2 separate regions of the Homo sapiens genome follow, and region 2 is linked to region 1. Evidence: promoter capture Hi-C in 16 types of primary human blood cells and fetal thymus (Javierre and others, 2016). All regions are on one chromosome and are shown on one strand. The core of a region is centred on a gene start or on the middle of the fragment in contact, and the rest is flanking DNA. Distances in the headings are between cores, read along the strand shown. Region 1 holds the start of ETS1-AS1 (ETS1 antisense RNA 1). Region 2 has its middle 84 kb from the start of LINC02725.

The links. The method cuts DNA at HindIII sites, captures the fragments that hold promoters and counts their contacts. A CHiCAGO score of 5 or more calls a contact.
Region 2: a fragment that was not itself captured here is called in contact with the fragment with the promoter of ETS1-AS1 in region 1 in 1 of 17 cell types (total CD8 T cells); the score reaches 5.7 in total CD8 T cells.

Annotation. Positions count from the first base shown.
Region 1 is chr11:128,524,052-128,529,885 of GRCh38, forward strand. It overlaps ETS1-AS1 (ETS1 antisense RNA 1), which reads left to right and starts at 2,091. Exons shown (of 4, transcript NR_120581.1): 1 at 2,091-2,264; 2 at 2,482-3,367; 3 at 4,960-5,034. All of the region lies in intron 3 of ETS1 (ETS proto-oncogene 1, transcription factor), which reads right to left. The HindIII fragment of the contact is 5,425 bases long and covers 1,690-5,834 here.
Region 2 is chr11:128,008,718-128,014,511 of GRCh38, forward strand. No RefSeq gene overlaps it. Among named protein-coding and RNA genes, the nearest start is that of LINC02725, 84 kb to the right of the region's middle. The HindIII fragment of the contact is 2,841 bases long and covers 1,537-4,377 here.

The DNA.
Region 1 (5,834 bases), core at 841-3,340:
TTAATCCAAGTGTGAGTACTTCTCTATTTTCAAATGCAGATTCCTCAGAGCAACTCCTTTCTCTCTTCCCCAGTTTGCTCCTCAACTTTCTTCCCCAGACTAGCCTAAACACTGCTGCTAACATCCACCCAAATTAGATACTAAAAAAGCCCACCATGATTAAACTGTAAACACTTTCCACTCTAGCAATGAGGAAAATTATTCTTTCTAATTCTTCCATAGTGACAACTCAGATAGTCAATCATCCGTTTCCTAATCCAGTCCTGAAGCACAGAAACAAAATGAGTGAATGTCCAAATCAAGGAATAGGGTTGCGTAAAGCAGCAGTTTGGAGAGATAGCCAGGCGCCACCACAGGCTGCCAGGAAAGTTACCTCCAGATGATATTAATTATGAATATTTATGCCATCAGAAGTTATGCATCGAACCCTGGATTTGGATGAAGAGCACTAATAAGGTCATGTTAAAATATTTTTTACATATTTAAGATATAATAATCTGATCAGGTCTGCCAGGGTCATGTTTCATTAATCTAATCAATGTTGATAAATGAAATTTTTATTCATTCTCTTTAGGACACAAGTAGATTTTTCTAAATGTTCATATGGACTTTAAATGATATTTCTATGTTATCATACGCTAAAACATTGATGCCTAGCCTAGTGCCTAAGACATTACAGAGCTCAATAAATATGTGTTGAATGATGAACTATCAACTTTTTGGTCACTATGGGCTTCCTAATTCAATGATTAAGTGAGTTTGATATGCTCTGGCTTGTGAAGATGAACTAAAAAGTGTCAGAGGCTGTGCCCTTTTCCCTTCATAGTAGAGCAGAACCTCTATCCCCAGCACTCACGTCCACTCGGTTACATGTATGCCTCAGTGTCCCCACCAGCCAAACAACAGCAGCCAAGCGTTGCCTTTCATCCACTTGGGCAAGATACTTCAATACCATATCTGGTTTTTAAGGCACTCAGGAAAAAAAAAAATCAATCAAATAAATACTTCTGTGCTTGTGCTTGTACTGCAGCAGTCTGTTCCTCCTGCATTTGGGAAAAAACAGAATTGTATTTTTAAGCATTCCTTAGACTTCGGCTAATTATATCCTACCAAGTGCTGAATTGCCTTACACTAGGAACGTGAAGTCAATAAGGGCCAAGAAAAGTCCGCAGGAGTTGGGGAACAGAAGAGTGGAGCTAGACAATAATATTAAGAAAATAGTCACCTTCATACAGGAATTCCTCAAGCACATGGAGTATGTAAAAAGCATACTTTCTTTTTTATTTATACTCCTCCCTCAACTCCACCCCAACTTCAATAAAAAAGAAATATAAATATACACTTAATGTTGAACAATCATGGAAGACAGACTTTCCCTCTCCAGAAGTGTCCTAGCATGTTATCTACTCCTGAGTCTTGAACTTCAACAAAACAAAGAATCTCTGAGTTTTGAGCTAAAATATGCTTTACTGAAGGTAGGTACAAAAACATTCAGACCACTAACGGCTGATCCAGAACCAGTTTATGACTCACAGATGTTGATTTACTGGTATAAATGTAAGATTTAGAAAAAAAAAAAAAAAAAAAAAAGCCCTCAATTAACAACAACCTGTCTGAGCTGCATTTGTGGTCTCATTTTTCTCTGAGAAAAGGCAACAGTCTCTGTCATACACAGAAACAAGCTTTGAAAGCTTACTTCTAAGGCAAGTGGTTTCTATGTGAGAAGTTTAGTCATTAAAAGTCACACTAGGGAAGAAAAATGCCTGGCACTTCAATATCTACATTATCAAGCAGCAATAAAATGGAAAATTAGAGATAGGAAGGAAAATTAAAATAACTCTCTTAATTAAACTTGGATGCCAAAAAGCCTTAGGGTCAGTTAAGGGACCCAAGCCAGGGGACTCAGATGGTACTGTTGCTGACTGCAGGCTGGCTCTGTGACCTCACCAAAGCCACTTAACCTTTTTGTGTCACAACCTCATCTCTGTTTCAGGGAATAAAATCAGCCCTAGCTCTCCCTAGAATGGAACACAGACTCATTGGCTATTGTTTAGAAGGCACAATAAACAATGAGGGTAGGAGGAGCTGCAGTCAGGAGGGAAGAAGGGAGGGTGGGGTGGGGTTGGGGGAGAGGGGAGGACTTGGGAGCCTGTTTGCCCTGGAAAGCTCAATATAAGAAAACAAAGAGGATAGTAGTGTGGGCTTTGGAATAAGACTCAGGTTCAAATTCTTACTCTACCAACTAGCCAGCTGAATTGCCACAGGTAAGTCATTTAAACAATCCCGAACCTCAGTTCCTCCATGTTTCAACTAGGGATAATAGCAGCACACACCTTTTAAGGCTATTTGAATGATTAAATGAGATAATGTATGCAAAGAATTTAGCACAGTGTCTAGGTGAGAATTAGTATTTGATTATTGTTATTAAGATCTAGTATACGGTAGAATATGTGGGAAATCACATTAAATGTCTGTCTACAGCCATCTCTTTGCAGAATAGCTTGGATGCTCAATTTTCCTGAACGATCTCCAGCGAGAGATAGAACAACTATCACCACATTTCATTTAAAAATCTCTTCAAGACCCTTCCTCAGTTCTTAAACTGGCAACCTGCCCAGCATCAGCCTCACTTGAGAAATTCGAGAACTACCTGATTGGAGAAGAGAACTAGATTTATATTTGTTTTGAGTCACAGAAAAGTGACAGTTTAAATTCTGAAAGAAGATCACATTTGTAGTGCCTCTTTGGAGACAAAACCTTAGGTCTTGGATTTGTCACATGTTAGAGCTCAATGGGAGTTTATCAGTGCTCTCCAAGTCCAGCACTCCTATTTACCAGAGGTGAAAAATGAGTGTGAGTGAGGAAATTATTATTTCCAGGGCCACACAATCTAAAAAAGTCAGTGTCAGTACTAGAACCAGATGCCCTGATAGCAGTTCTCTCCCTGGCATCTCCTTGCATTTACTTTGCATTTCACTTTGGCAGGAGAAGTACCAGACACCCTTGAGACACAAGACAGGATACAATGGACATGGGAGTAGATAGATGAGCAGACTCAATTTCTAGAAATCCAACTTCTCTACACTGGATGTATTGTCTTTGGGCAAATACATTGCAGGATAACCACACTATGGTTCCCTGTGGGAGACAGCTTGGCATGGGCTGTCAGGAGAGAAAGGGCCTGGGTTGGCTCTATTGCTGTCTGCAGTTTCTTTAGACTATAATTATGAACCATTCAACTGCATCTGCAGCCCCAACAATGTGGGGTGGATTGGCCTAATCCACAGACCAAGCGACATTTTAAAATCCAGCAGTTTAGACACGTATTCCTCTTGCAGCAAATCAAACATGGCTCAGACAGGAAGAGGTAAGGAGCTGCCCAAGGTTAGAGGGTTCTGAGGTCTCATCCACACTCAGTGTTGTGTGCTTCCCTGAAGCAGGCTGAGCATGTTGCCTGGAATTGCTGCAAATGCAGAATGCAGGCTACTCTGTGAGCCTTTGGGGATCATGTAATTGGGATTCCAATTTAAATTGTCCTGAATTGGACTCTTGAGGAGGTAGAGGGATAATGGCAATAGCACAGATGGCAAGAGAACCAACATCCTTTAATAATATGAGAGAAGAGGACAGCCAGTCTCCTAGAAGCTCTGCATCCCAGGGCTACAGGATTTCACCCACTGTCCAAGGCTGCAGGTGGTTTCATCCTGGTGGAAGGCTAAGGCCTTCCTCTGATCTTACTCTGCTTTTCTCTTGGGTTACAAAGACAACATCAAACTTCAAAACAGATGTTCTCTGCAGTTGTGGTTTGAATCTTACATTAAGACAATTTCACTGTGGAATCTTTTCCCCTCTCCCCACTACTTTCATTTAAAATGCCAAATCAATTGCCCCAAAAGACTAACATTTACCACCCCAGAGATCAAGAAGCAGAGATAAGTGGAGCACAAAAAGGAGAAATAGCCCTGAAAGGAAAAGGGACGGTGGTACAGGAGGAAGTAGTGGAAGGGAAGTCCTCTGAGAACAATGGAAGTGTAAGTCGAGGACAGAGAAGGGGAGGAGATGAGGAGGTAGAGTCACAGTGATTTTATGTTCTTGTCGTTCTGGGACTTCAGTCCCCAAGATTTCAAAATGCAGTTAAGACCTAGTAAAGTATCCCATACTTTAATTAATTGTCTTGCATGGCCAACAGTCATGGAACTACAGAAAACAGATCAATGGGAGGTCCTCATGCTGGAAGAGATGCAAAGGATCCAGGATAGAATGGAGGTGAAAGGATCTCAGGAGGTCACAGAAGACACAAGGGAAGGTCAAGCTGACAATCTAGGCAGAATATAGAGTGTGTTTCTCAGTCTTTTCCTCACATGGACATTTGCAGTACACAAAGAATTTCCCTCACAGAAGCTGTCACCCCACCCCTGCAAGTTGCCACTTTTCTGCTCAGCTCAAGAGCACACTCCTAGTACATATTTGAATATGCGTGTCAGTCTCCTACACTCTTTAAAGGCAGCAACTGAGGTTCAGTCATTATTACACTCCATGGTGTTTAGCTCAAGGTAGTAAGAGCCCCATAAATTATGTTCATTATTTAATTAATGAACAGTTAACTTCCTAACATCCCCGTAACATTTTTACAGAAAAATGAAGCTCAGATACCAGTTTTGTTTTGCCTAGTTCGGTCTGAAGTGAGACTCAAATTTGCCCAAAGTTTAAGATTAAAGATCCAACCAACTGACTCATTTCTAACTAAAAAGGTCTTCGTAAAGTTTTATTCTGTTCCTCCCATTCCTCCCATCCCCTTAAAGGAGAATGTTGCTAAGATCACAATATTCATTTTACTTTTTATCTAATTTTTTATTCTGAGACTTCATGTAAAAAATGACATTTGGCTCACCACGAAGTAAATCAGTTGTTTGATTGTCAGCCTGGACGTTTTATACATCACGCTATTCATATTCTCAGATGGCTGCTCAGAAGCAGTCTTCAGGAATTTCCGAACTTCGAGTTGAATCTTTTATTTCACTGGCTTCCACAAAGGTAAGATGTACAACTGCTATATACATTATTTGTAAGATAAGGGAAATACATGAAATGAACTCAATTTCCTCCATCTTTATGAGAAAGAATAGACTGTTACATGCTTTATGGTGAGCCAGGGTGCTTACTACAAATCCCTTTCACCTTCTCAAGTTTAATCTGTCAGGACTCCAGAAGCACTGTATTTTGAAATATATCTTCTGGCTATACAGGTGATTCTATATTGAGGAAGGGTATGGGTTGGAAGTAGAAATGGGGGGACATGGGGATGGGCTGAGAGTGAAGATGGGAATGAAAAGGACAGGGAGGATCAAATGGAGCTGCTACAATCTAGCAGGTGGCACAGAAATATAGAAAGCAGCCCTAACCACTTTTGTCGAAGTAGAGTATTGCTCTCTGCACTTTGTTGTTTGTATCTACTAATGGGTAATCAAGATGTTGGAACAGAAAAGGCAGCTGATCTTAAAGCCTAAAAACCAAGGAAATATTGGATTTGGTGAGGGCTCATGATTTCTCCTGAGTTCTGAGGGGGAATCATGAACACACATTATTTTACATCACTTCTTCCAGAACCAGTTCCGTATAAGAGCCCCAAGAAAACATTGATGTGTCACACTAAGAACAGCCTGCTTAGCCAGTAAATATAACATTCTTTGAGTATGTCACTGCAGTCATCCACAAACATTTTACTCAAGAATCTATGCCTATCTTACCTTAGGCATCCTTCAATGAGCAGCATTATAGTGTCATAATGAATTAATATGAATCCTAGCTTCACCAATGCTAACTCTACCAACAGA
Region 2 (5,794 bases), core at 1,707-4,206, 510 kb before region 1:
TCAAGAGACCCATCTCACGTGCAAAGACACACATAGGCTCAAAATAAAAAGATGGAGGAAAATTTATCAAGCAAATGGAAAACAGAAAAAAAGCAGGGGTTGTGGTTCTAGTTTCTGACAAAACAGACTTTAAGCCAACAAAGATAAAAAAGGACAAAGGAGGGTATTGAACAATGGTAAAGGGTTCAATTCAGCAAGAAGAGCTAACTATCCTAAATATATATGCACCCACCACAGGAGCACTGAGATTCATAAAGCAAGTTCTTAGAGACCTATGAAGAGACTTAGTGTCCCACACAATAATAGTGGGAGACTTTAACACCCCATGACAATATTAGACTAGATCATCAAGAAAGAAAATTAACAAATATATTCAGGACCTGAACTCAGCTCTGGATCAAGTGAACCTAACAGATATCTACAGAACTCTTCACCCCAAAACAACAGAGTATACATTCTTCTCACGACACTTATTCTAAAATTGATCACATAATCGGAAGTAAAACATTCCTCAGCAAATGCAAAAGAACTGAAATAATAACAAAAAGTTTCATAGACCACCCCACAATCAAATTAGAACTCAAGACTGAGAAATCCACTCAAAACCACACAACTACATGTAAACTGAGCAACCTGCATGACTCCTGGGTAAATAATGAAATTAAGGCAGAAATCAAGAAGTTCTTTGAAACTAATGAGAATGAAGAAACAACATACCAGAATCTCTGGAATGCAGCTAAAGCAGTGTTAAGAGGGAAATTTATAGCACTAAATGCTTACACAAATAAGCCAGAAAGATGTCAAATTAACAACCTAACAACCCAACTAAAAGAACTGGAGAACCAGGAGCTAACAAACCCAAAAGCTAGTAGAAGGCAAGAAATAACCAAGATTAGAGCAGAACTGAAGGAGATAGAGACACGAAAAACCCTTCAAAAAATCAACAAATCTATGAGCTGGTTGTCGAAAAAAATTATAAAATAGATAGACTCATAGTTTGACTAATAAAGAAGAAAAGAGGGAAAAATCAAATAGACATAATAAAAAATGATAAAGAGGATATTACCAATGACCTCACAGAAATGCAAACAGCCATCAGAGAATATTGTAAACACCTCTATGCACATAAACTAGAAAATCTAGAAGAAATTGAAAAATTCCTGGATGCATACACCCTCCCAGTAAGGTGAACCAGTAAGAAATTGAATTCTTGAATAAACCAATAACAAGTTCTGAAATTGAGGCAGTAATAGATAGCCTACCAACCAAAAAGAGCCCAGAACCAGACAGATTTACAGCTGAATTCTACCAGATGTACAAAGAACAGCTGGTTCTATTTCTACTGAAACTATTCAAAAAAAAATGAATAGAAGGGACTCTTCCCTAACTTGTTTTATGAGGCCAGCATCATCCTGATACCAAAACATGGCAGAGATACAACAAAAAAAGTAAACTTCAGGCCAATATCCCTGATGAACATCAATGCCAAAATCCTCAATAAAATACTGGCAAACCGAATCCAGTAGCACATCAAAAAGCTTATCCATGATCAAGTTGGCCTCATCCTTGGGAGGCAAGGTTGGTTCAAGCTACAAAAATCAATAAATGTGATTCATTACATAAACAGAACTAAAGACAAAAACCACATGATTATTTTAATATACATAGAAAAGGCCTTTGATAAAATTCAACATCCCTTCATGCTAAAAACTCTCAATAAACTAGCTATTAAAGGAACATACCTCAAAATAATAAAAGCCATAAATGACAAGCCCACAGCCAATATGATGCTGAATGGGCAAAAGCTGGAAGCATTCCCCTTGAAAACTAGCACAAGACAAGAATGCCCTTTCTCCCCACTCCTATTCAACATAGTATTGGAAGTTCTGGCCAGGGCAATCAGGTAAGAGGAAGAAATAAAGAGAATTCAAATAGGAAGACAGGAAGTCAAATTATCATTGTTTGCAGATGACATGATCCTGTATCTAGAAAACCCTATCCTCTCAGCCCAGAAACTACTTAAGCTGATAAGCAACTTCAGCAAAGTCTTAGGATATAAAATCAATGTGAAAAAAAATTTCTAGCATTCCTATACACCAACAACACACAAGCAGAGAGCCAAATCATGAATGAACTCCCATTCACAATTGCTACAAAAAGAATAAAATACCTAGGAATACAGCTAACAAGGGAAGTGAAGGACCTCTTCAAGGAGGACTACAAACCACTGCTCAAAGAAATCTGAGTGGACACAAACAAATAGAGAAACATGCCATGCTCATGGATAGGAAGAATCAATATTATTAAAATGGCCATACTGCCCAAAGTAATTTGTAGATTCAATGCTATTCCCATTAAACTACCATTGGCATTCTTCACAGAATTAGAAAAAACTGTTTTAAAATTCATATGGAACCAAAAAAGAGCCTTAATAGCTAAGTCAATCCTAAGTAAAAAGAACAAAGCTGGAGGCATCACACTACCTGACTTCAAACTATACTACAAAGTTACAGTAACAAAAACAGCATGGTACTAGTACAAGAACAGACCCATAGACCAATGGAACAGAATAGAGAACTCAGAAATAAGACCACACACCTACAACCATCTTATCTTTGACAAACCTGACAACAACAAGCAATGAGGAAAACGCATCATTTTTTTTTTTTTTTTTTTTTTTTTTTTGAGATGGAGTCTCGCTCTATCGCCCAGGCTGGAGTGCAGTGGCGTGATCTTGGCTCACTGCAAGCTCCGCCTCCCGGGTTCATGCCATTCTCCTGGGAAAAGGCATCATTTTTAATAAATGGTGCTGGGAGTGCTGGCTAGCCACATGCAGAAAATTAAAAGTAAACACATTTCTTATACATATACAAAAAATAACTCAAGATAGATTAAAGACCTAAATGTAAAACCCAAAGCTGTAAAAATCCAGGAAAATAACCTAGGCAATACCATTCCAGACATAGGAAAGGGCAAAGATTTCATTAAGAAAATGACAAAAGCAACTGCAACAAAAGCAAACATTGAAAAATGGGATATAATTAAACTAAAGAGCTTCTGCACAGCAAAAGAAACTCCATCAGAGTGAACAGACAACCTACAGAATAAGAGAAATTTTTTCCATCTGACAAAGGTCTAATATCCAGCCTATAAGAAATTTAAACAAATTCACAAGAAAAAAACAACCCCATTAAAAAGTGGGCAAAGGTTCTAAACAGACACTTCTCAAAAGATGACATACATGTGACCAGCAAACATCAAAAAAGCTCAACATCATTGATCATTAGAGAAATGCAAATAAAAACCATAATGAGATATCATCTCACACCAGTCAGAATGCCTATTAAAAAGTCAAGAAACAACAGATGCTGGTGAAGGTATGGAAAAAAAGAAATGCTTTTACACTGTTGTTGGGACTGTAAATTAGTTCAACCATTGTGGAAGACAGTGTGGCAGTTCCTCAAAGACCTAGAGGCAGAAATTTGACCATTTGACCCAGTAATCCCATTACTGTGTATCTACCCAAAGGAATATAAATCATTCTATTATAAAGATACATGCACGTATATGTTTATTGCAACACTATTTACAATAGCAAAGACATGGACTCAACCTAAGTGCCTATCAATGATAGACAGTATACAGAAAATGTATGTGTACACATTTGAATGTACATATACACAATGGAATACTATGCAGCCATAAAAAATAACAGGATGATGTCCTTTGTGAGGACATGGATGTAGTTGGAAGCTGTTATTCTCAACAAACTAATGCAGGAACAGAAAACAAAACAAGACATGTTCTCACTTATAAGTAGGAGTTGAATGATGAGAGCACATTGACGCATTGCAGGGAGCAACATACACTGGGGCCTGTTGGGGGGTTGAGAGAGGGAGAGCATCAGGAAGAATAGCTAATGGATGCTGGACTTAATGCCTAGGTGATTGGATGATCTGTGCAGCAAACCACCATTGTACATGTTTACCTGCGTAACAGCCCTGCACCTCCTGCACATGTACCCCTGAACTACAAATAAAAATTGAAGAGAAAAAAGTTAACAGAACCAGAATCAGAGGACATAAAATCAGCAAACTGAAAAAAAATTACAGAGAAAATGAGAAAATGAGCTCTTCTTGACAACACAAAAAGGAATTTGCCATTTAATTTTTATCCCACAGAATAAAAATAGGAGAACTCTAAAATAAGGTCATTGGACAAAAAATTGTATACGATGAGTTGTGTAAAATAATGAAATCTCAGGAAGAACAAAGAAAGCATAAATGACAGAGATAAATTTTATTTTTATAAAGCATGAAAGAAAGGTCAGAAATATCCTTCATCTCACTGTTATTCATCCTTCACATTATCTATTGAAGCTTATAGAAAAACAAGACTGAAGGATTCTGGTTCCAACCTTGTTTTTGCCACAGTTGGGATTGCCGACCCCTTGCTGCTGAGTTAAATCCTCTTTATACTGTAGTAGAACAAATCTTTATTTTAGGGGAAGAACTAATGACATAGTAGATCATTGGCAAAATAAATACCAAGCCATGCGGTAATTAGTAAAATGACTATTGATAATAACAACGTGAATTAATATTTGGTGAATTTTATAAACAGAGCATTTCAAAAGAAAGAAAGTGTAGCATCCTTTGGAGACAAAATAATACCTCAAAGATTACTGTTCTAAAATAATACCCTCAGAAATGCCTGAGTCTAAACAAAATAGTACTTGGGACTATTAAAAAGGTATACAAACAACTCAAAATTCATCCATCTCAGCGGTGCTCACATCATCTCTGTGAGATCAATAGAAATGGAGAATTTTCTCTACATTTTGGAAACAGAAAAACTGAAACCACCTAAAGAATTACGGCTGCTATGGAGATTAGAAAGAGCTAGAGTTTTTTTCTAAAATATTATTGTCCTTATTAAAAACAAATACACACACACTAGAAAGAATCTCTGTTATTTGATATGATAATTCACATTCATTTGCAGATACATAATTGCCAGTTTGGATTGAATACATGTAAGTAAGGCAGTTAATAAGAGTAGGGGTTATACAATAAAAACAACAACAAAACTAACCATTTGGGGGTGTTCACTGGAACAAACATCTTATATGAATTATGCCAATTTTCACCAGGCCTTTATAAGGTAGTATCATGATTCCCTCTGTGCATCCGTACAGAGAATATTGATGCACCAAGAAGTTTAATCGCACTTCAAAGCCCTGTAAGTAATAAGTGGTTGAACTGGAATTTGTGCCCATTTAGTCATTATTCTGGAACCTGTTCCCCCAACCCCAAATTGTCCTGTCTCGGTCAGGAATGAGATACCATGCTTTGGCATTTTGAATGCTTCCAGAAATCATTTTTGCATTGAAATGAGCTTCCGGGCATGGGTTTGGTCCTCAGAAAGGGTAATATGTTTGTAGGAACAAATTCTCCTTCATTAAAGTGTGATACAAAGATTTTGAAAAGCATTTTTGCTCTGGCTGAGGTCAATTGTTTTGTATGTTTCATTTAGAAATCAGGTATTTGCTTTTAGAAGTATTTTAACTAGACAAAGCACACAGAGCAAAAGCACACCGTTAGAGCTGAGGATTTGATTAAGAAACTTAATTAACATTGCTGGTGTAGTCAGGAGCTGCCCAAAAGGGAGCTCACACCTCAAGCATGGGACTTGGTCTCTAGCATCAGCTGCTACGAAAATCTTCATTCCAAAGAAAAGGCCATAGTGTGGCTCCAGCCAGATGTCAATTATTTGAATAAACTTTCCTTGAAGC